Regions from separate parts of the Homo sapiens genome. Here region 2 is linked to region 1. Evidence: promoter capture Hi-C in human tissues and cell types (Jung and others, 2019). All regions are on one chromosome and are shown on one strand. The core of a region is centred on a gene start or on the middle of the fragment in contact, and the rest is flanking DNA. Distances in the headings are between cores, read along the strand shown.

The links. Contacts are between HindIII fragments. The study calls those that stand out against the background at their distance.
Region 2: a contact is called between a fragment that was not itself captured here and the fragment with the promoter of GALNT15 in region 1, in 2 of the 25 tissues and cell types used here (aorta and dorsolateral prefrontal cortex).

What each region holds. Positions count from the first base shown.
Region 1 is chr3:16,170,263-16,178,026 of GRCh38, reverse strand. It overlaps GALNT15 (polypeptide N-acetylgalactosaminyltransferase 15), which reads right to left and starts at 3,347. Exons shown (of 10, transcript NM_054110.5): 1 at 2,337-3,347. The coding sequence starts at 2,875. The HindIII fragment of the contact is 4,561 bases long and covers 2,372-6,932 here.
Region 2 is chr3:15,669,442-15,677,205 of GRCh38, reverse strand. It overlaps ANKRD28 (ankyrin repeat domain 28), which reads left to right. Exons shown (of 28, transcript NM_001349278.2): 26 at 150-232; 27 at 1,217-1,308; 28 at 6,650-7,764. The coding sequence ends at 6,936. It also overlaps a transcript of BTD not described here. Among named protein-coding and RNA genes, the nearest start is that of MIR3134, 24 kb to the left of the region's middle. The HindIII fragment of the contact is 4,777 bases long and covers 2,116-6,892 here.

The DNA of each region.
Region 1 (7,764 bases), core at 2,098-4,597:
ACATCACACCACATGCACAAGATACGCAATACACACGTATTACACCCATGCACACTACACACACAGCACACACAAATACGTGCACAGCACACACACCACAAAATTTACCTGCACTTGTGCCACATACAACATATCCATGCACTTTATACCACATGCATAATAAACACAACACACTTGTACATATATGCATATCCCATTCACACAATGCATTTATAGCACAATGCACCACAGAAGCACATCATACACAAGAAACACAGTTACAACACAATACCTGTGCACACATGCACCACGTGAACATATGCAAAACAAATAGCAAACTGCAACACACACCCAGATGAACAATGCATGTGGCATCACCCCAATACACAATACATATATGAACCATGCACATAATACATGCACATTAACACACATGCACACAAGATGACACATTGCACAATGCATAGCTGTGCATATCATATCACATACACAAAGTAACATGCACCAAGCATATAGGCACCACATAACGCAGTACCTGCATGTACTACACATACATGCACGACATCCATTTAATACACATAATGCAATGCACACACAACACAGAGAATATATACAACACACATGCACGAACATACATATACCATGACCCACAAATATGCATATTCACCACACATTTGCACTATGCAAACACACAGTCACACACACAGACCACTTTGGTAGCCACAGACCCTCTCGTTTCAGGCAATATTATTTCTTATCGGCAAAAAGAGGATGCTCACTCTTGCTCCAGGCCAGTGAAAAATAGTGTCAAAAAATTTGAAAACTATGTTTGTTCATTCAGCAATCACTTCTTTACTGCATGTTGGGCTTTGGGATGTACAATACAAACTCAGTCCTGACCTTCTAAGGGGCTCACAGCATAGCAGGGAAAGCAGGCATTCGACTGATAAATACATCAATAATCATTTGGCTTTAGTTTTGTAAGTGCTGTGAGTTAAAACTCCAGGGTGCAAGGAGGGCACAAAACTAGAATGGGGTGGGAATTTCCTGAAAATAGCTTTTAAAGGTAAGGCTTGAAAACAGTGTAGCGGGTTTGAAATGGAAGTAGGGTGCGGTGAGTGAGGCACCCGGGGCACACAATTTAAGGAGATGTTCACTCCCGGCTGCTGACCCTGCAATTGCACACCCTCGAGTGTGAGTGGCTGAGCAGCCAGGCTGAGGGGAACTAGATCAGGGATCCGAAGAGTGTGTGGCCCTGCTTCCAACTGCTGCCCTGCACAAATGTTTGCTTTCCAGGAAACTCTCCAGGCTCTGGGAGGAGCAATGGCCTATAGGAAAAGGGACCTAAATCACCAAACTAAAACTAACAAGCTGCCTTGCTCCCTGGATGCTGGTAACCAAGGCTCCCTCCTCAGTGGTCAGCCATGGTGACAGTAAGGGAGCAGGGGGTGTGGAGGATGGGCCAGCATCTCCCTGGGCACAGCTCTGCCCATCACCTACACTTCTCAGCTTACCTCCTGGGGCTGGGGCTGCCCTGGCAGGGTAAATTGCAGTCAGCACAGTATTCTGGCTCTCAGGCACTGGACCTGTTTCCTTAGTCTAGTGGCCCAAGGCAGGTGGCATGGAGTGGTGGGTCAGGCAGACTGGAGCTCACATGCCTGCATTCAAATCCTGACTTTGTTACCTACTAGCAGCGTGACTGGGAAAGCAACTTCACCTTGTTTTCATACCTATAGAATAAGCATGATGATACTACTAGCACCCATCTTGCAGAGCTGTGAGGACTTTCCAGGACTTTATGAGTTAATACATTAAAAGCTTGTAAAGTAAATCCAGACGCATGGGAAGAGCCCCCTAAATGTAAACTGCAATTGTTATTTTGATCCAAACTAAAAGCAAACACTAACAATAACCCTAAAATCAAAATGTAGTGGAGTCAGAGTGTTAGAACTGGCAAATGTCTGCTCTAACCTCCCTTCTGTGTTATAGAAATAAAGCCATTTGACCTAAAGACAGAAGAACTAGAACCCAGGACGGAGAAGAGAATGAACAAGCAAGAGTCCTCACTTTCTGCTTTCTAGGACAATGATTCTCACCTGAAGGGCTTGTTCATACAGACCACTGGACCCCACCCAGAGTTTCTTGTTTGGCAGGTCTGGGATGGGGTCTGAGAATCTGCATTTCTGAGAACCCACCAGTGCCCAGGGGCTGCTGACGCTGCTGGCCCAGGTACTGCATCTTGAAAAGCACTTGCTCTAAGTCAGGAGAGGCAGGCTACGGAAAGTTTGCATTCCCGAGTTTGCTACCACCCGATCATGCCCTGGGATCAGGGAAGGGAAAACAAGGGCCTTACTTACAGTGGGTGCCGCACCTCGGGCAGAGCCCTCTGGAGGGGGATGCGGGCACTGAGTGCCTCCTGGAGGCCACGTGGGTCCAGGCTGAACGGGGTCAACTCCTCTTCTTCAGACACCTCCCCGTCCTCATCAGCCCCCCAGTCCCTCTTTGGGGCTTCCTTATCCTGCCTCCTTGGCTGCTTGATGAGGCGGTAGCTCCCACCTCTCCTGCCCTGGCTCTGGTTCCTTCTGGCCTGGGGTAAGGCCACGGCCACCAGCAGCTGATCCTCCCGCAGTGAGATAAAGGGTGGCAGGCCCTCCAGAGGGCTGTACTCTTCACCCTCATCCTCAGCTTCCAGTACCCAATCCTGGGATTCCCCAAAGTCCAGGCGGTACCTGGCTTCAGGGCTGTGCTTGCTGGCTTGGGCTGTGACAGTCTGGTGCAGGGTGTGGTGGGGAGGGTGCAACATCGCCACCATCATCAGGACGCATCCCAGCATCAGGAGCAGCAGGAGGAACTGGAGTCTGCATGGTCTGTGCCTGTATCGCTTCCTTAGGAGCATGTTGCTAGAACTTGCCAAATGCAACAGGTCATGTTCAAGTTAGCTTTCTCCCGCTCCAGGCTCCTTCAAGCTTGCAGCAGAACCTGGGTTGCTTGTTCCACCTGGAAGTTTTTCTGCCAGTCACTTAACCTGGTCCTGACATTTGCCAACAGCGTGTGCAAGACCTGCTTCCACTTACAATCAGAAAACCACAGGACCCAAGTTTCACCCCAAGTCCTCTCTGAGTGGATTTCTTTAATTGCCTTCTGAAAGCCCATTCACAGGGACTTCAAATTGAATTGCTTCCCTCCCTTTACCCCGGTTTTCTCCTTGGGAAAAAAATAATGATTCCATTCTGCTCAGGTGTTTCTTTCCCCCTTTGTATAAATAGGTTGCTATGAGGTGTCTGGGATGAGCTGGTGGGTTCTCAGTCAAGCAGGGCTGACAGCCGTCCCTCTTTGGACGCTTCCAGTCAGGTCAGATCAACAGATGTAAAGCCGGCAGGCAGTGCCTGGTTTCCTTTCACACATAGCTCCACTCAGCCGAGAGCCCTCTGCCAGACACAACCCAGAGCCAAGCGTGCGCGTCACTCCTGGTCCTAATGCCCTCACTGTTCCCAGGCTTTGCACAACTCGGTGTGGTCACTGCTAGAGCCAAATCAAAACAGGAATATCCCAAGAGTTCAGAAGGAAAGACTAATACCCTCTGATTCAGAAAGGCTGTGTGTGTGGCATAGCTGCAAGGAGCTGCAGCTGTCTGTTTGCAACCTCAGCCTCCCATGGGGGATCAGGCAAACTAGGTTGGACTCTCCTTCCCTTCCTGGGGACCACTGTCCCTGGCCTCCTGAAAATGAGGGAGCTAAGGGAGATGATCTTGCAAGTCCCTTCTTCTCCCACAAGAGCAGCTGAATGCCTGCTCTGCCCTGGCCACCAAGGGGGACGCTGGAAGAGGAGTGGCATGCTCTTTCCCTCATAAAGCTTCCTTCATTTAACCAACACATAATTAATGAACACATGCTATGTGCCAAAATTGTTCTGGGAACTGGAAGTAGAGCAATGAATAACACAGACAAAAATGTGTGTCTCATGGAGCTTGCATTCTAGTGACAGATACAATTAAAACTATCCACTGGGTCAGATAGTGATGAGGATGAAGGCAAAAAAGCAGAGCAGGGATGGGGCTGGGGAGCATGGGCTGGGCTTGGAAATGGACATTGAGTGGTGGAGAAAGGTTTCATGGAAGAGTTACCATTTGTGTAAAGGAGAGGGCTGCACAGCTATTTGAGGTTGAGTGTTCGGGGCAGACAGAATGATAAATGTGAAGGTTCCAAGGCAAGAGTATGCTGGCATGTCTGAGGAACAGCCGGCATGGCTGAAGCAAAGAGAGCAGGGTGGAGCCTGATGGGAAGTGGAATAAGAGAGGCAAGGGGGCGGGGGGCAGGAGGACCATGCAGGACACCCCCTGGTTGCATTGAAGGAACTTTGGCTTTTCCTCTGAGTGAGAGGGGAGCCCTTAGAGGAGAGACACAATCTGACTTGGGTTTTAACTGGATCATTCTGGCTGCTGGGTTGAGACTAATCAGTGGGGGGCAAAAAGCAGGAGCAGGGAGACCAACCAAGAGGTTCTTGGCTTGCACTAAGTGGCATCGGTGGTGACAGGGGTCAGCTTGTGGATATACTTTAAGGAAGAACCTATAGGATTTGCTGATGAATTAATGACTAATGTGAGAGGAAGAGAAGAGTCAAGATGAGTTCAAATTTTTGTTCTGAGTAGTTGGAAGAATAGACTTGCCATTAACCAAGATGGGGAAGGAGAGAAGGTGGAAGGAGATGAATGCATGCCAGTGGCTTGATTTGGAACATGTGACATTCGAGATGTCCTCTAGACAGCTAAGAGGAGATGAAGTGAAGGCAGCAGTTGTAGGATAGCTGAAGGTCAGGGGGAGGTCTGGCCTGCATATACAAAGCTGGACTCCAGCAGCACTCAGATAGTGTTTGAAGCCGTGAGACCTGAGATCACTGAGGGAGTGAGGTAGGTAGAAGGGAGAAGAGAATCCAGCATGCTCAGTTTTCAGGCTTCTGGCTTGAACAGGTTGAAGGATAGCTGACCATCACCATGAGCAGTGTTTCTTCTGATGGCTGTAAAGCAGCCATGCTGTCTGCAACCAAGAGTGGAGGGGGGAAAACTGCCATTGGGGAAGTCCTGCAATGAACTTGCTCATTGTTTTTGTCTTTATTTTGATCTTAGAATGTCAGCTAAAATGTTTGTGGAAAAAAATGTTTTACCTTTTGACTCAGTTGTTTCTTCCAGTGTGTGTGGTGTGTCTGTGCACACTCACGTGCACAAGCATGTATACACGTGTGTTTTCATGAAGTCAGAGGTGAAATAGTGGGTTATGTGTGGTTGTTCTCCTGGAATCCCATTGTAATGCCCCAGTGGACAGTGCTTAGCAATTTCTGGATTGAATTGTGTCTTCCAAATCTCAAATCACGGTGTATTGCCAGGTGGGAATACTGTGTCATTTCCAAATTCAAGAGGCAGACACCCTGGGAGATGTAGTTCAGAATATCTGGGGACATTTTGAGGTTAATGAGGATGAAGGATTAGAAGGTTCCAAATCCAGGAGGCCTTCAGAAAACTGAGTGTGCAGAGTCACCATCTTCCACTCATCTCTAGCAACGCTGTGCTTGAACTTACCAAGAACAGCCCACCCCAGGGCTGTCACCCTGGCCAGCCCACTGCTTGAGCACTCTTTCCCCAGAAAGTCATCCATATGGCTCATTTCTTCATTTTTGTGTTCCCCAGAAAGTCATCCATGTGGCTCATTTCTTCATTTTTGTGTTCACTCCAATGTCACCTATTTAGTGAAGGCTTCGTGGACCCCCCATTCTACATTGAAACCCCTCATCAACATGGGGCTTTCTTTGAGAATCTCTGTGGCTCTTCTCAACACCTGGAAAATTAAAATACTAAGGTGTTTATTGTCTGTTTCTCCACCCACTCCCATAAAACATAAGCTCCACAAGGGTAGGGCTTTTGTTTGCTTGTTCACTGCTGTTTTTCCAGAGTACACAAAGCACATTTTTCCACTCCCCAGGCCTTTGCTGCTGTCCCTGACAGCTTTGCTGCCAGTTCTTCCCATCCCCCACCATCACTTGGCACATGAGGCCCAGACCTTGCTCCCTTCTCCTCTCTTTCTCACCCTTGCTCCTATCATGGGTTGAATCGTGTCCTCCAAAATTACACTGAAGCCCTGCCTCTGCTGGGGAACCTGTGAAGGGGGCCTTGACAGCAAATAGGATCTTTGTAGATTATCAGGTTAAAAGGAGGTTGTTAGGGTGGGCCCTAATCTAATATGACTGGTATTGTTACAAAAAGGGGACAATTGGGCAGAGACAGGCATACACAGAGAACATCATGTGAAGAAGAGGGCAGACCTGGGTGACACATCTAAAAGCCAAGGAATATCAAAGATGGCCAGGAAATCACTGATAGCTAGGAGAGACATGAAACAGACTGTCCTTCACAGTCCTAAGAAAGAACCAGCACTGCCAACACCTTGATCATGGACTTCTTGTTGCTACAACTGTGAGATCATACATTTCTGTTATTTAAGCCACCCACTTGTGGGACTTTGTTATGGCAGCCGCAGGAAACGGATACAGTTCCTCTTGCCCTCCCCACCCTCCCACCCTCCTCTGCCTTCTCTCAACTCTTGCTCTAGCTCTGTCATTTCCATCTCTCCTTCTCCCATTCCATCTCCTTCCTCAACCTCTAGTGAGGTTAGGCATCACACTAACCTCCTCAGCCCATGGCCTTCCCATGACAGAGACAGCCCATGAAAAAAGGCTCCCAAAAGAACTGGGGCTGGGTGACTCTGGCCTGGGATTCTTGGCTCCAGTTCAAGATAAACTAGATCTGGTGAAGTCCCAGATGCAGGCCGTGGGTCTCTCCTGGGACTCAGAGCATTGTTGATCTAACCTCCAGGCTGTCTCATTGCTCAGAGAGGTGAGATGATCAACACCCCAATTAGACCGCCACTGGGGTTTCTGTATGTTTCTCTCTTTAGCTTTTCATCTGTCTGTTTTCTCATAAGCCATGGCAGCTTTGGTGTTAACAATTCTGCTGTTTTCCTAGAAAAAAATGAAATTTTTCTGTTCAGATGGATGGCAGGTTAAAGTGCCAGAACAAATCAGAGACTGAGAGTATTCATGAAAGGAACAGTAGACATCAGCTAGTGAAAAACAAAAAATTCTGCAAAGCAATAGCAGACCTGGCCCAAGCAATTCAAGAAGATGTCATCAACGGCCCAGTCGCTGTTCTTCCCATCTCAAGCTGAGGTGAAAAGAGCAAGAATAAGGGAAGCTAGAGAGGCAATTCCCCAAATAACTTAACCCCAGGCATTTTTTTGTTTGACTTGGTGCTATGGTTTGAATGTTTGTTCCTCCAAACTTCATGTCGAAATTTAATTCCCAGTGTTAGAGGTGGGGCCTAATGGGAGGTGTCTGGGTCATGAGGGTGGATCCTTCATGAATAGGTGAATTTCCTGCTTGGAGCAGAGGGAGACCGGGTGAATGAATTCTCACTCTGTTGGTTCCTGTGACATCTGGTTGTTAAAAGGAGGCTGGCATCGCCCCCATTTCTTGCTTAATCCCTTTCTCGCCATGTAATCCCTGCAGGTGCAGGTTCCCCTTTGCCTTCCACCATGAATGGAAGCAGCTTGAGGTCCTCATCAGAAGCAGATGTTGGCACAGTCTTCTTGTACAGCCTGCAGAAGTGCAAGCCAAATAAACTTCTTTATAAATTACCCAGCCTCAGGTATTCCTTTACAGCAACACAAATGGACTGAGACAGCTATAACACACAGTGATGGCTGTTTGCTTTTTGGTCTCCTCCATTAGTGGTTGTTC
Region 2 (7,764 bases), core at 3,255-5,754, 500 kb after region 1:
TGGGCAAATATTAAGATATTAGCCAGGAAAATTCATGGTATATGTATGGTGTTGTACATAATATATGGACTAGGATTGCAGATTGTTGGGTGTATAAATGTATCTTTAATGGTGCTCAAGTTTTTATAACTTATCTGCCACAATTATAGGGTCATGAAACTAGTGCCTTGTTAATACTGGAAAAGATAACAGATAGAAACCTCATCAATGCAACCAACGCAGCCTTGCAAACGTGAGTACTGTCAGTATCTAGTATAAACTTTGTGACCTATAATTATAAAAATGATAAATGGATTTTTTTAAACATGTGACTATTGGAATAGGTTTCATTAGTCATAGAAGCAATTTTAATAGTTTTACAACTGTCAAAACTCATTTCTAAAATGATCACAACTAAAAGCCATATTATTTAAAATGCTTTTGAACTGAAATTTTATTATAACATTGACAATAATGTATTTTTTTCCTTAATCCACCTACCTAATTTTCTGAAGGAAAGTAGTACTATTTTGTGTATTCTGTGGAAATCAACTGTAATAATATGTTACTTGAAACTAACAATAAATGAGGTAAGAAGCTTTATGTGTGTCTGTAAGCCAATAAGGTTTCTTAAAGAATCAAAATTTTTAATAATGTGAGCAGCCAACCTCCAGATAGACTGACAGAGATCTTACATCAGTGTCTCTCATTGTCCCTTGCTATTCCATTTTGAGGTTTAGTAAAGATAAAAATCTTAGAATATTGTTGCCCGTTCTGGGATTAGTCAGATCCCTTGAAGGTCCAAAAATTAGTCATGATGCTTGTAAGCTGTTTTCAAAGCCTATTAGAATTTATGCTACTGCAGTTTACAGTTTTTAATGTATAGTCTGTATCTTTACCAGCCTCATTCCTTAACAACGGAGGAATGCAATTTCAATGGTAAAATGTTTTTAAACATTGAAAAGAAAAGTAACAAAAGGATTGGGTGAAGGTAGGGACCTGTCGATGGGACCTATGGCTGAGCTTGATGCCGAGCTACACGTTGACAAGGTGTGACAGTGCACTGCACAGAGGTTCTGCTCTCCCTGCCCCCATCTTTGTTATTAGGACTAGGTTTCTCGAGTTTGTACCTCTTGGTCTTCACAAGTTGACAAAAATGCTCTTTGACAGCCAGGTGTGTATGTGTATGTGCATGCACATGCACATATGTGTACATGTATCATGTTTTTTCCCCTAGACCTCTGCATGTTGCTGCCCGAAATGGGCTAACAATGGTGGTTCAGGAACTTTTGGGAAAAGGAGCAAGTGTGCTTGCAGTAGATGAAAATGGTAAGTTGGTTCTATATTCTCTTCCCTTAACCTAGAGCTTTTATCTTTTGATCCATATTTGAAGAGAAATAAACTTGGATATTTTTTATTGGTCAAAGAGGAGAGCTAAAGTTAATATTGAAGAGTAGTTTGTGGCAAAGGAATAAGGGCAAAAGAAATAGGAAAAGTTATCTAACAGATGTACTTCCGAATTCCTATATCATCTGTTACAGCAAAGTTAGTATTTACTGTTTATACTTGCCACTTTCTGTTGTTTTAGTAGCCAAAGATTTTGTTCTTTCAGCAAATATGTATCAAGATCCTAGTTAAGTACTAATATTCTTATTTAAAGCCAGTGTTTCTACTCATGCACTAGATCCTGTCCCCTTTTGCCTACTTCATAATGTCAGTTTGACAGTTCTCTTTTGTGTCCTGGAGTAACATTTTTCGCTCTCTTCCTGTATTATTCCTCTCAGTATATAAACATTAGTTCCCTCATCCTTAAAAAATAATTTATAAATCTCACTGCTCCTGCCAGCTACTGCCATATTTCTCTGTCCCCTTTTGCAGCAAAACTACTCTCTTGCTGTCCGCAGTTATTCCTCTCATTCTTCCATTCTTTTGTTGTTGTTGTTGTTGTTTGTTTTTGAGACGGAGTCTAGCTCTGTTGCCCAGGCTGGAGTGCAGTGCCATGATCTCGGCTTACTGCAACCTCCGCCTCCTGGGTTCAAGCGATTCTCATGCCTCAGCCTGCCCAGGTAGCTGGGATTACTGACACCTGCCACGACGCCTGGCTAAATTTTGTATTTTTAGTAGAGACGGAGTTTCACCATATTGGCCAGGCTGGTCTCAAACCCCTGACCTCAGGTGATCTGCCTGCCTTGGCCTCCCAAATTGCTGGGATTACAGGTGTGAGCCACAGCGTCCAGCCTCATTCTTCCATTCTCTCTTAATTTCCGTATAGTCAGGCCTTCTCCCCCTCACCCCTACACATAGCAAAACTGTTCCCATCAAAACCACCAATGACTTCTACTGTGTTAACTACTACTTAGCTCTCATTTTACTTGATAGATCAGCTTTTGGCACAACTGATCGTTTCCTTTGATAAATTTTTTTACTCTGCTTTTTGAACCCCACTCTTCCTTGGTTTTCCTTCTACATTACTAGTTATTCCTTCTTAATTTCTTTTACAAAATTTCTCCCTCTTCTTCTAGGACTCAATTCTTCGTTCTTTTTGCTTTCTCTATCTACATTGACTCCCTAGTGCTCTCATCAGTTCCTTTGGTTTTAAATACTACCTATAATGCTGAGGATTCCCAGATTTATATCTCCAGCCCAGACTTCTCACAGTCTCTATATATCCACGTGCCTAATTGACACATCCATGTGGATGTCTGATAAACAGCTTAAACCTAGAATGTGCAGAACTGAACTGTTGATCCTTTCCCACTCCCCTTGCCAGACCTACTCTCCCCACAGCATCATGCTCTCTCCATTGAAGACAATTCTCATTCTTAACAGTGGCTCAGGGCAAAACCCCTAGAGTCATCCTTGATTCCTCTCACTCATACTCAATGTATAGTCCATCAGCATATACTATTGACTCCACCTCTAAAGTAGATCTAAAGTATGCCCACTTTTTTCTTTACTGCTACCAGACTGACCTGGATCCTTTTAAAGTATATGAGAACATGTTACTCTTGAATTTCGGTTCTTCTTCTTTTTTTTTTTTTTTTTTTTTTTTGAAGAGGCAGGGTCTCACTCTGTTGCCCAGACTAGAGTACAGTGGTGAGATCATAGCTGATTGTAACCTTGAACTCCTGGGCTCAAGAGAACCTCTCACCTCAGCCTCCCAAGTAGCTAGCACTATAAGTATGCATCACCAGGCCTAGCTAATTTATTTTTTGTGCTGACAGACTCTCACTATATTGTCCAGGCCGGTCTTGAACTCCTGGCCTCAAGCAATCCCCCCACCTCAGCCTCCCAGAGTGCTCCACCTGGCCCCACTCATAGTTCTTAAAATGACCTTACTAGGCCCTACATGATGTGTCCTCCACCTTGTTACCTTTCTGATATTATTTCCTACTCTTCTCCTTTCTCTACTTCATTCTGCCATGCCAGCCCCTCCATAGCAGGGTTATACATGCATTGTGATCTTCATTCTGGCTGTTTACTCTGCCTGAACACTCTGTCCCCAAACATCCCATGACTAAATTCGTCACCTGTTTCAAATCTTAGCTCCAGTTTCATCTTCTCAATGAAGCATATTCTAACTATTCTTTACTACAACTTGCTAGATACCCCTACCATAGCATTCTCAGTCCTTGTTAACCTGCTCCACTCTTTCCTCTTTTTTTACATAAAGCTTTTAACATATTGTATATAATGTACTTTTTTGTTATGTTGATTTTGTGTCTTCTCCACTAAAGTGAATGTAAGCTCCACAAGAACAGTGAAATCTTTGTCAGTTGCATTCACTGATATATTCTTAGTGTTCTAAATAGTGCCTGAGCAAGTGGAGGCTCAGTGAATATTTGCTGCATGAGTGATTATGCCAAGCACTGTACTAACTTCTGATGATATAGTGTAAAATAAGACATAGTCTACTCCCTTGAATGGAGATAAGAGTGCAAACAGCCTATTAACGATGCACTTAAAATAGTTTAATTGGAATAAGCATAGAATGCTATGAGAGTACTTAAGAGGGTCTTCAAATCCTTTCTTGCAGGATCAGAGAAGGCATCCCAAAAAATGCAACTGCTAAGCCAAAATCCAAAGGATAAGGAGAAAGTGGGGGAGGAACTTTCTAAGCAAAGAGAGTGGCATGTTAAGAGATAAAACTGGCCGGGCATGGTGGCCCATGCCTATGGTCCTAGCACTTTGGGAGGCACAAGGCGAGTGGATCACCTGAGGTCAGGAGTTCGAGACCAGCCCCGCCAACATGGCAAAACCCCGTCTCTACTAAAAATACAAAAATTAGCCAGGTGTGGTGGCATGTGCCTGTAATCCTAGCTACTTGGGAGGCTGAGGCAAGAGAATCGCTTGAACCCAGGAGGCAGAAGTTGCAGTGAGCCGAGATCATGCCAGTGCACTCTAGCCTGGGTGACAGAGCCAGACTTCGTCTCAAAAAATAACCCCCATGCAGAGGAGAGGAGCCTGTTTTTAGTCATATTCTGACTAGAAAACACACCTGAAACAAGCTTCTTTCCCCACTCCCGCTCTCATCCAAGGCATCCTGGCCTATGTAATGGGTTGTTCTGCCTGCCAGCAGCAGGAACAGCAGCAGGCACCTTTAGAAGAACCCTTGAAAGAAGTGTGGGCAGTGAAGCACTCCCCCAGCTACTTTGAACAAATAAAATTTAATTAAAAATACGGACAGCCTTCAGCCACTGCTGCCAAACTTGGAAGGACATCAGTTGTTCTCTTTGACCCTTGACAAAATGGGAACTTTACAAAGGGGGAAAAATTACTTTTTGTGGCTGGGCACAGTGGCTTACTCCTATAATCCCAGCACTTTGGGAGGCAGAGGCGGGAAGATCACTTAAAGCCAGCAGTTTGAGACCAGCCTGGGGAACAAAGCGAGACCCTGTATCTACAAAAAAGTTTAAAAATTAGCCAGGCATGGCATGTGCCTATAGTCAGAGCTAGTCAGGGGGCTGAGGTGGGAGGATCACTTGAGCCCAGAGGTTGAGGGTGCAGTGAGCATGATCATTATACTGCACTCCAGCCTGGGTGACAGAACAAGACCCTGTCTCAAAAAAAAAAAAAAAAATCCTTTTTTTATCAAGGCCAATATAGCATAGATGAAAATATGTGGGAGAACTGGAAGCAACCAGATGCCCAGTAGTTGAAATGTATAACTAAACCATAGTATAATCACACAATGAAATACTGTATAACAATGAAAATGAACCAACTACAGTTACATACAACATTGATAAATTTCATATAATGCTACACAAAAATGCCAGATATGAAATAATACATACTACATGATTCCATTTATATTAAGTTTTTTAAAAACTCTAAACTGTAGGCTGGGTAAGGTGGTTCACATCTGTAATCCCAGCATTTGGGAGGCCGAGGCAGGCAGATCACTTGAGGCCAGGAGTTTGAGACCAGCCTGGCCAACATAGCGAAATCCCATCTCTACTAAAAATATAAAAAATTAGCTGGTCATGGTGGCACACACGTGTAATCCCAGCTACTCAGGAGGCTGAGGCAGGTGAATCACTTGAACCCAGGAGGCAAAGGTTGCAGTGAGCCAAGTTTGCACCACTGAACTTCAGCTTGGGTGACCGAGCAGACTCTGTCTCAAAAAAAAAAAAACAAAAAAAAAACTATAGTGTTTATGACTCCAAGTTGAAAGCAAGGAAATTACTACCCCATAAGTCAGGATAGTAGTTACCATTGTGGAAGAAGAAAGGTGTAACGACTGGGTAGAGGATATATGGAGGCTTCTGGTATGCTGGTAATGTTCTCTTTCTTAATCTGTATGGTGGTTATACAAATGTATGTTATGTGATAAAACTATTAAAGTTCCATATGGTATAATTGAAGCTTGGCATCACACTATTATCACTTCTCTCCCGCTCCGTCCTCAAGACTGAGTCTTGTACCAACTGAGGTACCAAATGTTTCCTCCTTGGTTTGCTGTGTTGACACTTTGTGGTAACTTACGACTAAGGTCAGTTGTCTTCCGCTTAAAAAAAGGGAATATTTACAAAGGAAATATTTGTTTTGATTTAGTAGTTTTTAAAGTTCATCTGCTTAGTTTGTCTACTGTTTTTCTTCAAGAGACTGTGACCCCAAGAGAAAAGTTAAATTGACAACTAAGTGTCATTCATTCAACACATATCTTTTGAGCACCTGCCCTGTGGCTGATTCATGAAGCTGTACACATTTAAGATTTCTTAGCATCAAAAAGTTTCCTTACATAACTACAAATTAAATTTTTTTATTTTTTCTTACCTTGACACTGATATAACTGCAAATTAACAGTAAATCTCTGCCTACCATCCTGAAAGAATATTCACGATATGTGGTGTTTTTCTTATTCTAGCCCAGTTTTTTCTGTGAATTCAGATGGATACGGATAAGTTGTGAGACCTTGGGGAATCATTCTTCTCTGGGCCTGCTTCCTCTTCTGTTGTCTAGTCTAACATCCCCTTCCACCCTAGGTTTCTATGGCTATTCTTTTTCTACTTATTAGAAACTTGCGAATCATGCTGGTTACAGCAATTTATTATAAGCTAAGTAATGTAAAATATGTCTAAAGTTGAAGTACTTTAGGCTTATTTCCTTGTCTTTGGTGAAATACATCTCAGGATGCTTAATTTTTAAATTTTATCTTTAATTCTAGGCTATACCCCAGCTTTGGCCTGTGCTCCCAATAAGGATGTGGCTGATTGCCTGGCTCTCATTTTGGCCACCATGATGCCTGTCTCATCAAGTAGTCCTTTATCATCCTTAACATTCAATGCCATTAACCGTTATACCAACACCTCAAAAACAGTCAGCTTTGAAGCTTTGCCCATCATGAGGAATGAACCTAGCTCCTATTGCAGTTTCAATAACATTGGAGGGGAACAGGAGTACTTATACACTGACGTGGATGAGCTCAACGACTCCGATTCTGAGACCTACTGAGAGGCTGAGGAGGAGGGAGTTCTCACAGTAAAGCTTCAAACTGTGCTTTTTCAGGAAAAAGGCACTTTGATATTCACGTAGAAATTCAACCTAAGAGGAAAGATCCCACAGTGAGCCAATGTTAAGAGATCTGATGGCATTAGGAGGAAGAGTTTTAAAGGCAAGTTTTACAAAAGGAACTTCTAGAATCTTGAAATAGACCTGACTGAGGAAAACACATTGATGTCAGAATTCTTTGTGGAATTGTTTAATTTGGTTTTGCAGTGCCAGGAACAATTGGGGACACTGTGCACTCTAACCTGCTTACACAAGCAACACTATTGTAACAGAAGAAATAAAGACACTAGATTTAAATTTTATCAATAAAATTACAACTAAATTTAAAGGCAATAAAAGTTTGGTACAGTAGGCATTATGTGCACAGCAAATTGCAAAAGGACCAAATAACTGAAAGGTTTTTTTAATAAAATGCCATTTTGTGGAAACTGGAGTAGATTAAATGAAACATTACCTAAACCAAACTGCAATATTTCTGGAAATGAAGCTGAGATTTGGTTTTAAATGTTGAGTTTTTTTGGGTTTTGTTTTTTTTTTAAGAAAACATCTGAAAGCCTTCCAATGCTGTATTAAACCATGAGAGAAAGCAGATGTATTTTTACATTTTTTTCTTTTACAGAACTATTTCAAATTTCCAATTTTTATACTATTAGAATTAAAAACCAGCTGACTGGGTGCAATACGGGTGAAAATACTTGTGACATAGACATTGAGATGGATTGGGGTCAGGCTGTTGCCCTGTTTTGAATGGTTTGGGTTTAAAATAGTACT